5 separate regions of the Homo sapiens genome follow, and all the other regions are linked to region 1. Evidence: promoter capture Hi-C in 16 types of primary human blood cells and fetal thymus (Javierre and others, 2016). All regions are on one chromosome and are shown on one strand. The core of a region is centred on a gene start or on the middle of the fragment in contact, and the rest is flanking DNA. Distances in the headings are between cores, read along the strand shown.

Evidence for each region. The method cuts DNA at HindIII sites, captures the fragments that hold promoters and counts their contacts. A CHiCAGO score of 5 or more calls a contact.
Region 2: a fragment that was not itself captured here is called in contact with the fragment with the promoter of SYK in region 1 in 1 of 17 cell types (neutrophils); the score reaches 6.9 in neutrophils.
Region 3: a contact is called between the fragment with the promoter of GADD45G here and the fragment with the promoter of SYK in region 1, in 6 of 17 cell types (monocytes, megakaryocytes, fetal thymus and 3 more). The highest score is 15.0, in monocytes.
Region 4: a fragment that was not itself captured here is called in contact with the fragment with the promoter of SYK in region 1 in 1 of 17 cell types (neutrophils); the score reaches 5.2 in neutrophils.
Region 5: a fragment that was not itself captured here is called in contact with the fragment with the promoter of SYK in region 1 in 2 of 17 cell types (neutrophils and monocytes); the score reaches 11.7 in neutrophils.

What each region holds. Positions count from the first base shown.
Region 1 is chr9:90,800,500-90,803,298 of GRCh38, forward strand. SYK (spleen associated tyrosine kinase) reads left to right here and starts at 1,320. Exons shown (of 14, transcript NM_003177.7): 1 at 1,320-1,394. RefSeq lists silencers at 1,069-1,278, 1,299-1,458. The HindIII fragment of the contact is 2,717 bases long and covers 518-2,799 here.
Region 2 is chr9:89,628,289-89,630,988 of GRCh38, forward strand. No RefSeq gene overlaps it. Among named protein-coding and RNA genes, the nearest start is that of LINC03062, 10 kb to the right of the region's middle. The HindIII fragment of the contact is 1,777 bases long and covers 365-2,141 here.
Region 3 is chr9:89,603,515-89,606,282 of GRCh38, forward strand. It overlaps GADD45G (growth arrest and DNA damage inducible gamma), which reads left to right and starts at 1,498. Exons shown (of 4, transcript NM_006705.4): 1 at 1,498-1,660; 2 at 1,918-2,019; 3 at 2,153-2,366; 4 at 2,455-2,768. The coding sequence starts at 1,608. The coding sequence ends at 2,565. LOC105376139 (a long non-coding RNA gene) reads right to left here and starts at 1,502. Exons shown (of 2, transcript XR_930105.3): 1 at 1-1,502. RefSeq lists an enhancer at 309-1,207 and a silencer at 818-867. The HindIII fragment of the contact is 4,421 bases long and covers 1-2,768 here.
Region 4 is chr9:89,692,280-89,694,979 of GRCh38, forward strand. The region is part of intron 3 of LINC03062 (long intergenic non-protein coding RNA 3062); the gene reads left to right. Among named protein-coding and RNA genes, the nearest start is that of LINC03062, 54 kb to the left of the region's middle. The HindIII fragment of the contact is 3,386 bases long and covers 1-2,700 here.
Region 5 is chr9:89,320,767-89,323,466 of GRCh38, forward strand. The region is part of intron 2 of SECISBP2 (SECIS binding protein 2); the gene reads left to right. Among named protein-coding and RNA genes, the nearest start is that of SECISBP2, 3.6 kb to the left of the region's middle. The HindIII fragment of the contact is 4,234 bases long and covers 1-2,700 here.

The DNA.
Region 1 (2,799 bases), core at 70-2,569:
GGCAGACAAGATTGAAAACCTAATTTAGGAGTATGTGCCTTTAACAATAGCTGAGTCTTGGCCAATCCCAGTGGCCATACTTCAACCATTCATACACTGCTGAGTGTTCAAACTGTGTTCAAAGAAGGCAAAAGCCAACCTGTAACCAATCCAGTTGTTTCTCTGCCTTACCTCCAATTTCTGTATGTCACTTCCCTTTTTTTGTCTATAAATATGTTCTGACCATGAGGCATCCCTGGAGTCTCTGAATCCGCTGTGATTCTGGAAGCTGCCCCATTCGCAAATCATTCATTACTCAATTAAACTGCTTTAAATTTAATTCTGCTGAAGTTTTCTTTTAACAGGTTTAGAAAAAATAATGGCAAAAATGAATGAAAATCCAATAACCCTGGAAGCAGAAAAGGCTGGGGGCTCCAATAAGTGTAAATAGTCCCATCCCTATATTTTCTCCATGGCAATTACAATCCAGCACATTATATATATATTTTTTTGCTTCTCGCATTTTGGCTTAGGGTAAAGCTTTTTAAAACAGGCACTGCCAACCAGTGTTATCAAGAAGGTCTGGATGCCGTTTTGTGGGAACATTTTAAAGAGGAATGTCCAAAAGGAAAAGGGGGATGGGTTGGGAGAAGGGTATCAGGCGGGTATCTCAAAACCATTCTTAGGGCTATAGGTTTAATTTATTTGGTTGTGGACGTCAGAGCCGTCATGGTAAGAAGGAAGCAAAGCCTTTTGTAATAATTAAAGCCTTCAGAAGCAGCGTGCCCCATTGCCCACTAGTGCGCCGTGAAGTCTGGTGTTCACCTACAGGGTCCCTCTCAGCACTGCCCAGGCCTCCCGAGTGCTCCAGCACAGTAGCTTGGAGCTTGTTGGTTTGGTGACCAAGATACACTCCAGGGAATATGCCATGCAGTGGAGTCTCTTCCCCGGCACTGCATAGCAAAAGGAAAGGGCCGCTGGGTGTCTGTGGGTCCTGGGCAGTCACAGAAGCCACCGCGCTGGCGGGGAGGAGGGGGACCGATGCGGTCCATGTCCCGGGCAGCCCCACCTTCTCTGCCTGCGAAGGGCCCTTGTCCGGCGGGAGGAGAGAGGCGCGCCCCACCCGGGCTCCTCTACACCTGCCGCCGCCTGGGCCGATTCCGCGGGCCTCGCCCGGCGCTTCAGCCGATTCCCGCCCAGCTCCGGGCTCATGGGCGCGGTCAGCAGGGCGGGCCAGGGCGGCGGGGCGCGACACTGGGAGGAAGTGCGGGCCGCCTGCCCGGGCGCGTTAAGGAAGTTGCCCAAAATGAGGAAGAGCCGCGGGCCCGGCGGCTGAGGCCACCCCGGCGGCGGCTGGAGAGCGAGGAGGAGCGGGTGGCCCCGCGCTGCGCCCGCCCTCGCCTCACCTGGCGCAGGTAGGTGTGGCCGCGTCCCCTACCCGGCCGGGACTTTCTGGTAAGGAGAGGAGGTTACGGGGAACGACGCGCTGCTTTCATGCCCTTTCTTGTTCTACCTTCATCGGCCGAGGTAAAAGTGCTGAAACCATGTGAATAAAATACAGGTGGGTTCCGCCAGCTTCGCTCCTGAACCTACCCGCGCTCGGGATCCAGAAGCTGCGCCGGGAGAGAGGGGCTCAGGCCTGGGCGGAGGGGACGGAGGTCAGACCGTGCGGAAAGTGACCCGGGCACCCCAGGGCGCCCAGGCCCCCAGGGAGCGCGGAAAGTGCGGTCGCGGCCCGGCCCTCGGGAGACGCGGGATTGGGATCAGGCACAGCGCGAGGAAGTCGATCTTGGAGCTAGAACATTTTCCTTTGGCCATTTACACGAATCCACTGGAAAATGCCGCAGTGTTTATCAAAGTTACTCAAAGTAGAAATGTCCAGACGTCTTATGAGCTTAGACAAATCTTTTACTACAAAAAGAAACAGCAGTTGCATTCAAACAACAACCCTTCTGAACCACTACTAAAATTTAGCATAATTACTCTTGTGGATACATTTTCATTGTCAAGTAATTTACTTAGCCAATGAACTTGGAGAGCAAGAAAGTTTTATGTAGTAAAATGTAAATTTGAGTTAAGAGTTAAGGGTGTTTCTTTTTGTCTGTTTGTCTGTTTTTGGCAATGTGGCTCCAAAACCTTAAGCCCACCTAAAAACTATATAAATGCAATCCATTCTTTTGTTGGAATGTTCAAGGACTAGAAAGACAATTGGAGAAGTGAGAGTTTGAATCTTTTTTTACGTTGGAAACAGTGTTGCAAAATATTTTTTGAGTTTTGCCTGACTTAGCAAAGATTCAGTCGAACTCAAGTAGAGTTCAAAGCATTGCAGCGTGTAGTAAAAAAAAAAAAGAGTTGAAGATGTTGTGCCATATCTGATTCTTGGTATTAAAAATAAAAAAAGGAACCATTTAATCCCTAAGAGTTCCTGGAAGAAATGGAATTGATTCTACCATCTGACTTCTTTGTCTTAGTAGGGACAAATTCATTGCCTTCACACAGGCAGCATTTTAATTAAATGCAACTAAATACATTGATGTCCTCCTTCTCCCCAGTGAAAGTCCGAGCAGTGCATAGATAGAATTATATTTTCTCAAAAAGGCTTAAATACATGTAAATTATTAAGTGTTTTAAGTGAGAAATCTTTGTCAGTTGAAATTATTTTATCAAATCATTTTTGTTCTGAACGGCACTTTTGTTTTAACGTATTTAGAAAACTCTTGCATTAAAACAGAAATTGATTTGTATTATCCCCTGTATTTGAAGTGCACTTTAAAGTGTATTTGAATGAGAGATTATAATCAAATTACTTGATTTGTGTCT
Region 2 (2,700 bases), core at 3-2,502, 1.2 Mb before region 1:
CTGCCCCTTGGTCCTGTTCCACACCCTGCAGAGCTGCTCTCCTGTGGGGTGTCCTGTGGGGTCTTCGGGAGCACCGGGTGGGGTCAAGCTGGGTGGGGCATGTACCAAATCACCCATGCAGGCACTCACCAGCACCCTGACTTCCCCAATGTCCCTGGCAGCTTTCCTTGGTGACTGAGTGTCCCCAGGCTTAGCTTCATGCTTTCAAACAGTTTCTTTCTGGAAAACTCCGAAATTTTCCATAAATAAAAGAGGTATCCTTAGCAATCCTTGGGCTCAGATAGAGTGTTCTCTCTGCATGGTAATTAACGCCAGGAAAAAGGAAAATGCTGAGTCCCTGGCCTGGGCTCCCTGGTGGTCTGAAAGCTTTCCTATGGACAGTCATGTGTCAACTGCTTCCAGCGGGGCAGAAAGTCTTAGAAAGCCTGGGGAACCACTTGTGAAAACATGCAGCTCTGACAGTGACAGATGCAATTTTAGGCATACATATGTCTGATTTGGAGTTGGGAGTTGCCCTTTAAAATATGCAGGACCAGAAAATAGAAAGGACATCCTGAAGGCTGACAGATTTGATCTTGCAAAGGACAAACTTGCTGCATAAAAGTTAAACATTTCTGTTTGGCAAGAAGTAAAATTACTAAGAAAAACCCGGGAAAATGTTTGGCAATTTCTGTGAAACATAAAAGGTTAGTGGCCACAATATGCAAAGAGCTTTACAAAATAAACACAAACAAAAAATGGGCAAAGATTATAAAAATGGAAGAAGAGGCCACCTTGGTTGCCAAGATTACATAAAAAGATGCTCGATTTCACTAGTAATCAGCAAAATGAAGATAAAAGTCACAATGATGTATATTTTCCACCTCTAAGGTTGACACAATGTTTAAAAATGGACAACCTCAATGGTGGCCGGTTGCAAGGAAATGGGCACACTTCCTTACATTATTGCTGGGATGGTGAACCACAGCAAAGGCAAGAGAATGGCGGTTTTCGTTACACTGTAAAGTGCCTGGACACTTTGACTCAGCAGTCTCCTTTTTAGGAAGTTATCCTTCAGAAGTAAGTGAACTGATGTGTAAGAATATATGCACAGGGTGTGTACCACAGCTTTATACAAAGATAGCACAAAACAGGACAGCTTGAATGTTCCTGGGGACGGAATAGACGGATAAAGGATGGGACTTCCATTCAGTGGAATATTAGATAGCTTTCAAGAGGAACAAGGTAGATCTGTGAGTATTATTCTGGAGGAATGCCCAGGAAATATTAAATTACAGAAAAGCAGCAAGTGTCCACTCAGTGCCCAGGGTGGCCTGCCCCGAGTAGGGCTCAGGGTTGTGTGTGTGCACATGGTGCAGGAAGGCAGGGTGCTGCCGGACAGGTCAGGGCCATGGCTTTGGGTCTTGGAGGTGGGGTAGCGGGTGAGCAGAGGACTCAGAAGTGCTCCCTCATGCAAGCATACTATGCCACTTGTTCCAGCAACATGAACTATTTTTGTAGTATTAAAAGAGTCAACAATAAAACCCAGCCGGTTGCAGGCAATGTGACTTCGGTGAGCCTCTGAGATGCCTCGTGCTGCAGTTGCTCTTGCATTTGGCTCCATTTCTATTTTGTTCCCTCCAAGCTCCCAGTTCTAGAAAAACCACCAACCATCTAGTAGTTTAGAAAGTTTCCTTCTACAAAATCATGTTTTGAAGTCTCAGTTTCTCAAAAACAATGGCCCTGTGCATTTGGAAAGAGCAGTGTGCCTGCTGATGTTGGCTAGCATGCAATTTCATCTTTTGAGTCCTTTGTGTGTGTGTGTGTGTGTGCGCGCATGTGTGTGCGTTTGTTTGTTTGTTTTTTATAACAATATTCTTCTAAGCCAGATTGTAGAAGAAAGGAAGAAAGCTCTAACATTCCTCTTTGGCAAAGGAGAACCAATAGTCACTATTCTGTACATGGAACCCATCCCTCCTCCTTTTCCAGAAGCAGTCACATTCTTGCAGACAAGCTCCTGTTTCTGGTATTCGTGGGCAGAGAGTAGGGACCCAGCGGTTCCTTGCGCTCAGAGCAGGAGGGCCCAAGGCAGAATTTCCCACTTTCCCAGTCAGTAGCTACAAGCAGGTAAAGTTTACCAGGCTGAAAAATCTTGGGGTAAAAGCTTTCCTGAGGCCAGGACAAACACAGGGTGAGACCAGACAATGACTGAAAACAATGGATGTTTGGTGAATGTCTTAGTCTGATTATGCTGCTGTGAGAAAGTACTGGAGACTAGGTAATTTAGAACACACATTTATTTTCTCATAGTTTTGGGGTTTTGAAGGTGGCCCTGCCCTCAGAGCTGCACCAAACATTGCCCTAATGAGGACTCTGCTGTAGCCCTGACTCCACGGCTCTGCTAGGCATTCCCTAGTGGAATGCTGTGGTCTGAATGTTGTTTCCCCTCCCACATTCACGTTGAATTCTAAATCTCAATGCAATAGTATTAACAGGTGGGGCCTTTCGGAGGCGAGGAAATCATGAGGGTGCCTCCTTCATGAATGGGATTAGGCCTTTATAAAAGATGATTCACATAGCCTCTCTGTCTCCTCTAGAGGATGCAGCAACAGAGAGCCATCTCGGAAGCAGAGTGCAGCCCTCACCAGACACAGAACCCACCAGAGCCTTGATCTTCAATTTTCCAGCCTTTAGAACTGTGAGAAATACATTTCTGTTGTA
Region 3 (2,768 bases), core at 248-2,747, 1.2 Mb before region 1:
GTCAAACGGCAGCAACCTCTAGCCTATTAAACTCTCCCAAGATCTCTTCCAGACTTATTCCATTGCCGGAAAAAAGGCTTTTTACATATGCGCATTTAAGTAATTAAGATATTTCAACATGGTATAAGACGTAGGGGCTCTTACTCCATCAGTACTGGATGGGAATTTCCTTTTGCCCTCTACTCCCCAGGGTAACTGCAGTCCCACCTGAATGCGTTTTGCAGCCCTTACTCGGGTTCTATTTATGCGCAGCTTGGACAGGGCTCACTGGGCCCGGCCGGGCAGCTCCGTGGCCGTCCCTCTCCACCGCCCTTCCCCCGCGCCAGGCCAATGCAAGGGTGTGTGTGTTGGGGGGAGGGGAGGACAAAAGGGGTTCAGGATCTTTTTAACCTGCCTGCAGATGGCGCCCCGGGAAAGATTCCGAGCTGCATTACCTAAGCTCCAGGGGCTGCAGCCGCGGGGTCCCGGCCACAGGGCGTCCAGCCGCGAAGACTGCACAGCAGCTCTCCGTCCTTCCCAACTCGCGCGGCTGTTCGGCACCCGTGCGAGGAACGGATGGAAGGGAATTACTTGTAGCAGGGCCAGTACTGGGGGCGTGCACTCAGGGACCACGGAGTGGCACTCAGCCTCGACCCCACGCGCCAGGCAGCCCGGCGACCCCCACGCGCGGCGGGGTCCTGCCCACCCCACCCGGCGGCAGGTGGACAGTGTTGCTATGAAGAGAAAGCCTCGATTGTCCCTACAGCAAACCGCCACACGCCAGACCTCTGCTATTGTGCGCCCTCCATAGAAATGCAAACGAGCGGCGTGCGCCGGCCGCAATCTGCTCGTCCCCGCCCGCCCCCGTCTCCCGCGCCCCGCCGCGCTCGGCCAAGGGCGGGGAGGTGGGGTGGGATCTTCCAGAGACGGCTCAATGTACACATTGAGTATGCCTGGCAGGCATCACCAGCGCGCTCGGGACGCTAGTGGTCAGCTGCAGGGGGCTGTGCCCACTGCCTTTTGCAAGCCTCTAACTGGCGCTACCTGTTTTTACCTTAATTTCTGGCTCCAATGCAACAGTCTCATAGACTTCAAATTAAAGAAAAGAAACAAATAGAAAGGTAGCAATACAAAATGCAAAAAAAAATCCCTTTGCTTCTATAAAGGTGCTTTTCGCAAATTGCAGCATCATATAAGCAAACAAGGTTTTTGTGGGTTGGGTTTTTTCTTTTTTTTTTTTTTTTACTTTTTCCTTTTAAGGACTTCAAAAAAAAAAAAAAGCCAGGCGAGATGAAATCTGCAGGCTCCAGTCTGCCTGGTAACACCCCAACAAAAGCGGCAGATTTGAGGCATTGTCATCCCCCGCACCCCTCCCCACGTGGCCTTCTGGCACGAGCCGCTGGCTCGCCGCCTCATTTACATCAGAAAGCGGGTGCCGGCCAATAGGCGCGCAGCCTCGCGCCAGCTGGCGGCGCCGCACCCACCAGCCTATATAAGGGCGCGCAGCGTAGTAGGGGCGCACTCGCTGGTGGTGGGCGCGCCGTGCTGAGCTCTGGCTGTCAGTGTGTTCGCCCGCGTCCCCTCCGCGCTCTCCGCTTGTGGATAACTAGCTGCTGGTTGATCGCACTATGACTCTGGAAGAAGTCCGCGGCCAGGACACAGTTCCGGAAAGCACAGCCAGGTGGGTTTCAGGGCGCTGAGAAAGCCGCTGGTCGGTCGGCGACCGTCAGGGTTTTCCAGGGTGGGAATCCGCGGGGTAGGAGGGGAGCGCGGGGGTCCGGGCGCCAGATCCCGGTTGGAGAGCCGGGGTGCAGGCGCTGAGCCGGGATTGGAGTGTGGTTGGAGTTGGGGAGCCAAGGGTGTGTGCCGGTGGCCGGGGCTGGGGTCTCCGCCGCGCCCTCCGGCCGGCTCCCGCTCACTGCGCTGGCTCCTCCGCAGGATGCAGGGTGCCGGGAAAGCGCTGCATGAGTTGCTGCTGTCGGCGCAGCGTCAGGGCTGCCTCACTGCCGGCGTCTACGAGTCAGCCAAAGTCTTGAACGTGTAAGTGTAGACGCGGCCCAGGCTGGGAGACAGGGGCGGGGGTGAATGGCGAGGAGACTGGCGGATGGGAGGGGTGGCGGCGGGAGAACTCGGCTAGCCGGTTCTGACCTAGGTCCCCGCCTTGCCCTCGCAGGGACCCCGACAATGTGACCTTCTGTGTGCTGGCTGCGGGTGAGGAGGACGAGGGCGACATCGCGCTGCAGATCCATTTTACGCTGATCCAGGCTTTCTGCTGCGAGAACGACATCGACATAGTGCGCGTGGGCGATGTGCAGCGGCTGGCGGCTATCGTGGGCGCCGGCGAGGAGGCGGGTGCGCCGGGCGACCTGCACTGCATCCTCATTTCGGTGAGTACAGTCCCGTCCTGTCCCCGCCCCAGTGTCGTTCCCGCCTCGGCCCGCGGCCAGCCAGGCTGACCCTGCTCTCTCTCCGCAGAACCCCAACGAGGACGCCTGGAAGGATCCCGCCTTGGAGAAGCTCAGCCTGTTTTGCGAGGAGAGCCGCAGCGTTAACGACTGGGTGCCCAGCATCACCCTCCCCGAGTGACAGCCCGGCGGGGACCTTGGTCTGATCGACGTGGTGACGCCCCGGGGCGCCTAGAGCGCGGCTGGCTCTGTGGAGGGGCCCTCCGAGGGTGCCCGAGTGCGGCGTGGAGACTGGCAGGCGGGGGGGGCGCCTGGAGAGCGAGGAGGCGCGGCCTCCCGAGGAGGGGCCCGGTGGCGGCAGGGCCAGGCTGGTCCGAGCTGAGG
Region 4 (2,700 bases), core at 126-2,625, 1.1 Mb before region 1:
AAGTTGGCCAGGCTCATCAAATATTTATAAACTCAGTACCTAATTCCACAGGGCACCTCGAAACATACACCATGAATGAGGCTATGGGCCTGGAGGCTGGGATCTTCAAGCTCACTGAAGCCACAGGGTGTCCTTATAAAAGAGCTTCATAAAAATGCAAATTAATAATAACAGTAGATCATCACTTATTCAACCTCCACTTTGAGGATCGTGGGCCATAATTAGGATGAAGTGCCAAGAACTGAGCCCCAGGGAGTTTGTAACTTTTTTTACTCTGGGGTCTAAGGGACATCATGGGGGCTTTTTGAGTTGAAAAATAAAGTGAAATTTGTGTCTCACACTACACCTACAGTTCCTTCTTGTCTCGATTGCCAGGAGGAAAGACTGAGATATAATACCTATCAGAGAATACTGACTGAAAAATAATTCACATTAATTCAACCTATTTATCCATGATGCCATTTTAATCATTAAAACATGGAAGACTTGGCCGGGAGCAGTGGCTCACACCTGTAATCCCAGCACTTTGGGAGGCCGAGGAGGGTGAATCACCTGAGGTCAGGAGTTCGAGACCAGCCTGACCAACATGGCGAAACCCTGTCTCTACTGAAAATACAAAATTAGCTAGGCATGGTGGCTTGTGCCTGTAATCTCAGCTACTCGGGAGGCTGAGGCAGGAGAATTGCTTGAACCCGGGAGGCAGAGGTTGCAGTGAGCTGAGATCACGTCACTGCACTCCAGCCTGGGCAACAAGAGTGAGACTCCATCTCAAAAAACAAAACAAAACAAAACAAAACAAAACAAAACAAAACATGGAAGGCTAGAATGTCAGAGGTAAAGTTTGGTGAAGTTACTGGGTCAGCTCTGTACACTAAAAAAAAAAAATGCTTGAAAATCATCCAGGATGTCTGCTGGGCCATCTTCAGATGGAGGTGGTGTTCTTTGGCAAGTGGTAGTCAACACAGCGGGAAAAAAATAGAGGAATGAAATGGATGGTGGTACAAGATGATGGCCTACAATTAATGGAGAGGGGGCGACACTGAAAATCTCTGGGGGGCGAGTAAATATTAAAGGTGATTGGATTTTTTAAAATGAGAGAAAATGTAGAAACAAAACACAGTGTGAGGTTGAGTAAGATGGAGATGATAAGATAGAAGAAATCTGGGTGGGGACATGAAGCTGGAGCAGACGAGGGGAGTGCAAGGCCCAGAATGTGCTTTGGAGATGAATGGAGAACTTAGGGACAATAAAGACTGTGTAGAGAGAGAAAGATGGAGTAAGAAAAAGAGAGGGACTGGCAGCTGCAGTGGCACATGTGCACTGAAGCAAGCTCGTGGCTACTGCTGTACCTCCATCTCTCTGGCTCTCTCTCCTCCTCCCCAGCCTCCAAGGGGCCAGCATGAAAATGCAGAGGACAGAGATGTGTGCTAAGCACGGCACTCATATGGTGTACCCCCAGTTGGGAGACTAAAGCTGTGCTAGTAGGGGCATAAGATAGCTGGGTGCTCTCTGGTGTGAATTTGGGGTAGAAAACTAACCATCTGACATAGCCGTAGTAGGTACATTGGTCGCCTTTTCCTTCGTGTGCTTGGAGGTAGAAGGGCGAACTGTTTCTGAGAGTGGAGAATGCCCTTTCCATCCTTTCTCTACCATTGCATGACAGGGCATGGGCAATGCTGTTTTCTTAGGCAGGAAGTCTATGTCCAGGGAAGGAGCATGAGAGACAAGGGGACTCCTAAAGGGAGGCCGGAAGGAGAGGATTCTGGGGTGGGGAAGAAGCGGACGCCTCCATCGGGCTGTATGCCAGCCTGAGGTATGAAAGGCTCACCACAGGGTCATGCTCAGAGGATGGCCGGTCCTTACAAGGGCACAGGGCTGCTGACGGGATACGCTGCTATGTGGGAGGAATTTGCCAAATGACAACCTTGGATGAAGAACTGCTCAAGTCTTTTTTTGGTGTCCGTTGTGAGCTCACACAGAGGAAACCTACCTACCAATGCAGAAACTGGATGAACAGGGGAGAAGTCAGAAAGCCCTTTATTGTGGATCACGGGGCAGTGAGGGGTGCCCTACCCACACATGGCATCCAGCAGGCAACAGTACCCTGACCTTCCTCCCAAGTTGTAGTTAGACATCCCTACGGAACAAATAAGAAAGGGCTCTCACATGGCTATATATTTAGACAAATACACAGATCAACTGACGTATTCATCAATGGATGCACAGATAGGCACATTCATACCTGGAACCTAGTGGGGCACACATTTTGAAAACACATTTTTCTGTAAGGTGATCTTGATAACATCCAGTGGTCACTGAGTGCCTACTTGGACATTATGTTGAGTACTTCACATTTAATTGGCACAATACCCCTTTAGGTAGAAACCGTAAGTTGCCCCATGGTCTGGCTTGGGCAGTGATGCACTAGAGTTTGAGCTCCTGCTCAGGGTCTCACCACCGGGCATGTAGCCAGATACAGGGCTCTAGCCCTCGGTGCTGCAGGGCCTACCCCGGAAAAAACCACCCCCTCTCCCAGTTTAATGCAAACAAGGAGAGCGGCTGGAGTGAATGGAAAGCACCATCACACTTTGAGGCAGATGAACCTTGATGAAGATGAGCAATGAAATGTATTGTGGGAAGTCAGTGATGCTAAGGAGCCATGGCTGGAAGGTTCTGCCGAGGCAGCAGGTGTGGAGGCTG
Region 5 (2,700 bases), core at 78-2,577, 1.5 Mb before region 1:
TTTAGACAAAAAAAGTATTAATCTTTCACATAATTGTGTAGATTTATTTGTAGATCTGTTTTTAAGATTTGCATCAGGTGTAGTTCTAATCTAAGAATCCTAATGCTTTTTTCTTCTTTGATATGATTCTAACTTGTTTCCTTTTATTTGTGCCTGCATGATGTAATTGAAAATAGTTTGTACTGTATATAAATTCTAGAATTATATTTGCAAGAATGAGAATTGTAATGAATAAGAAAATGATTGAGTTGTCTTTTGTGTTTAGGAAATACTGAAAGTTGTATTTTTTTGACGAAAGTTGAAACACTACCTTTATATGCTGGAATTTGGTCTTTGGTAGGAATACCCTATTTTTCCACTGTATTTCATCCACTGTAAAGGGGAGTTTGGCATGGGTCTCACTTGAGTTGTTCCCTACCTTGAGTGTCTCACATAACAAAATACAAAAATATATCTCAGTGACAAGAGCTCAAAGCCATCTGCTAGGTGGTATTTAGTTACTCAAAATAGTGGTGGAAAACATTCACATGGCTAAAGGAACATTTTGGCAGTAACATGAGTGGAGACTAATCAGAGACTCAAGAATGGGCAGTGCTGAATTTAAAAATTAGTTTTCTTGGCCGGGTGTGGTGGCTCATGCCTGTAATCCCAGCACTTTGGGAGGCCAAGGCGGGTGGATCACGAGGTCAGGAGTTCAAGACGAGCCTGACCAACATGGTGAAACCCCATCTCTACTACAGAAATACAAAAATTAGCCGGGTGTGGTGGCAGGTGCCTGTAATCCCAGTTACTCGGGAGGCTGAGGTAGAGAATTGCTTGAACCCAGGAGATGGAGGTTGCAGTGAGCCAAGACTGCGCCACTGCACTTCAGCCTGGGCAACAGAACAAGACTCTCTCTCAAAAAAAAAAAAATAGTTTTCTTAACTCTTCTTTTTTAGCTTTGGTTTATGACCAAGGAAAAGTATTCACGCCTGGCAAGAAAACAAGGATAAGGAAGGCATTAAGTTGAAGAGGAAGAGTTAGAAAGGAAAAGATCCTTTAAAGTGGGGATGAAATAATGAGACTTCACATGGTTGAGAATTGATTATCTGAGCAGTTCTAATATAGATTAAAAATTGCATTGCCATAGTCAGATTACATGTAAATGGAGATCTCTTGCTGCTGTGACAAAAGGAATAGAAGTTTCTGAAACAACTATTTCCTCCTTCTTACTTGTTCAACTACATAGCATCCTAAGTCAACTTTGTATGTCCCCTTCCCTCATCTTTCCTTAAAGAAGGTATAGTAACCTTTTACAGAATTTGTCCTCCTCCAGTACCTTTCACAGTGCACTCAAAGATGCTCATTTATTCATTTGGAATTAATTATTGAAAGTCTTCCATAGTTTTGAAGTGATGGAGATGAAAATGAACATACCAGACTCTTCCATATTTATGTTATAGGACAAGACAAAGAAATTAGAAGTAGTCTGATAGATAACATTTGCCATGTTTGGAAAATACTGATTATTTACTGATGTAATGAACAAATTTGCCTATGCAAACAAAATAAGTTTCTTCCAAGTAATGTCCATTGTCATGTTACATCCTTTGTGAAAAATCCTGTGCAACCTGTGTATGAGGATGTGTGCCTTTTGTTTGGGTATTATTGTATACTTCCACTTCTTTCATAGTTACTACAATCCATGAGGTGGCAGGCAGATGTAATGTTATTTTGCACATGGGAAACTGAAGCTAGGAATGTTTGTTCATGCTAATTCAAATAGGTAGCACCAGAACCAGAATTAACGTGCTATTCTTCAAAATTGCTGCTGCTATTGACAAGAGGTAGTTGAGCATTTTCACCATCTGCCAATATACTGTGAAAATTTTAGTACCAATTGATGCTTTTGAGTTAAAGCAGATCAGCTATGAGAAGAACTAGTGGTATACAACATTGTACAGCTGAGCACGTGGCTCGGTGGGTGGAGGAGAAACTGCATCCCCTTTGGGTCGTTGCCTGACTGAAGGGACCATGTGCATGATATGTTTGGGAGATAGTAGAGGAATAAAGTGATAATTTTGGGGGGAAGCTGTCAGTAGATTGGAAGCCTGCATAGTACAGCTGAAAAGTTTTAGGTTTGCTGGGTAGGCAATAGGGAACTTTTGGTAGTGTCTTAAATGGGGTCATTGTAATCACTCCTAAATTTTGGAAAGATTTTTAAAGAAGAGGGTCTTGAAGGCTTTGACCAGGTTCTAGGCACTGGAAATAGTAAAGAAACTACATGAGAGAACTGTTGAAATAAAAAAGAGCCCCATGATTGTCCGTACAGGTTTTGGTGGGAAAGATGTTACAAAAATATTCGGTTGAATACATGGAAATAATTGTAGGATCATACATGAGAACAGAAGTTGTAAATGGGGCTGTTTTGGGGAATGGATGTTAAATTTGGGATTTATACGTGCTGAATTGGGAAAAAGTGAAATAGTAAGTGGAAATGACCTGAAAGTTGGAGATGGAGGCCTGGACTAGGGAAGGTGCTGGATTGTTTATATTTATGTCAAGTCCTAAGCAGAAAGATAAGAGGTTCTGACCCAGAATGTGTCAGATGGGTGAGATAAGGAGGGTGTAGAGGAGACTGCACTAGGGAAAGAGACAGAGATAGAGCCTTGGAGGGCAGGTGAGAGCCAGGCGAGCAAAGTCCAGGCCAGGGAGCTTTTC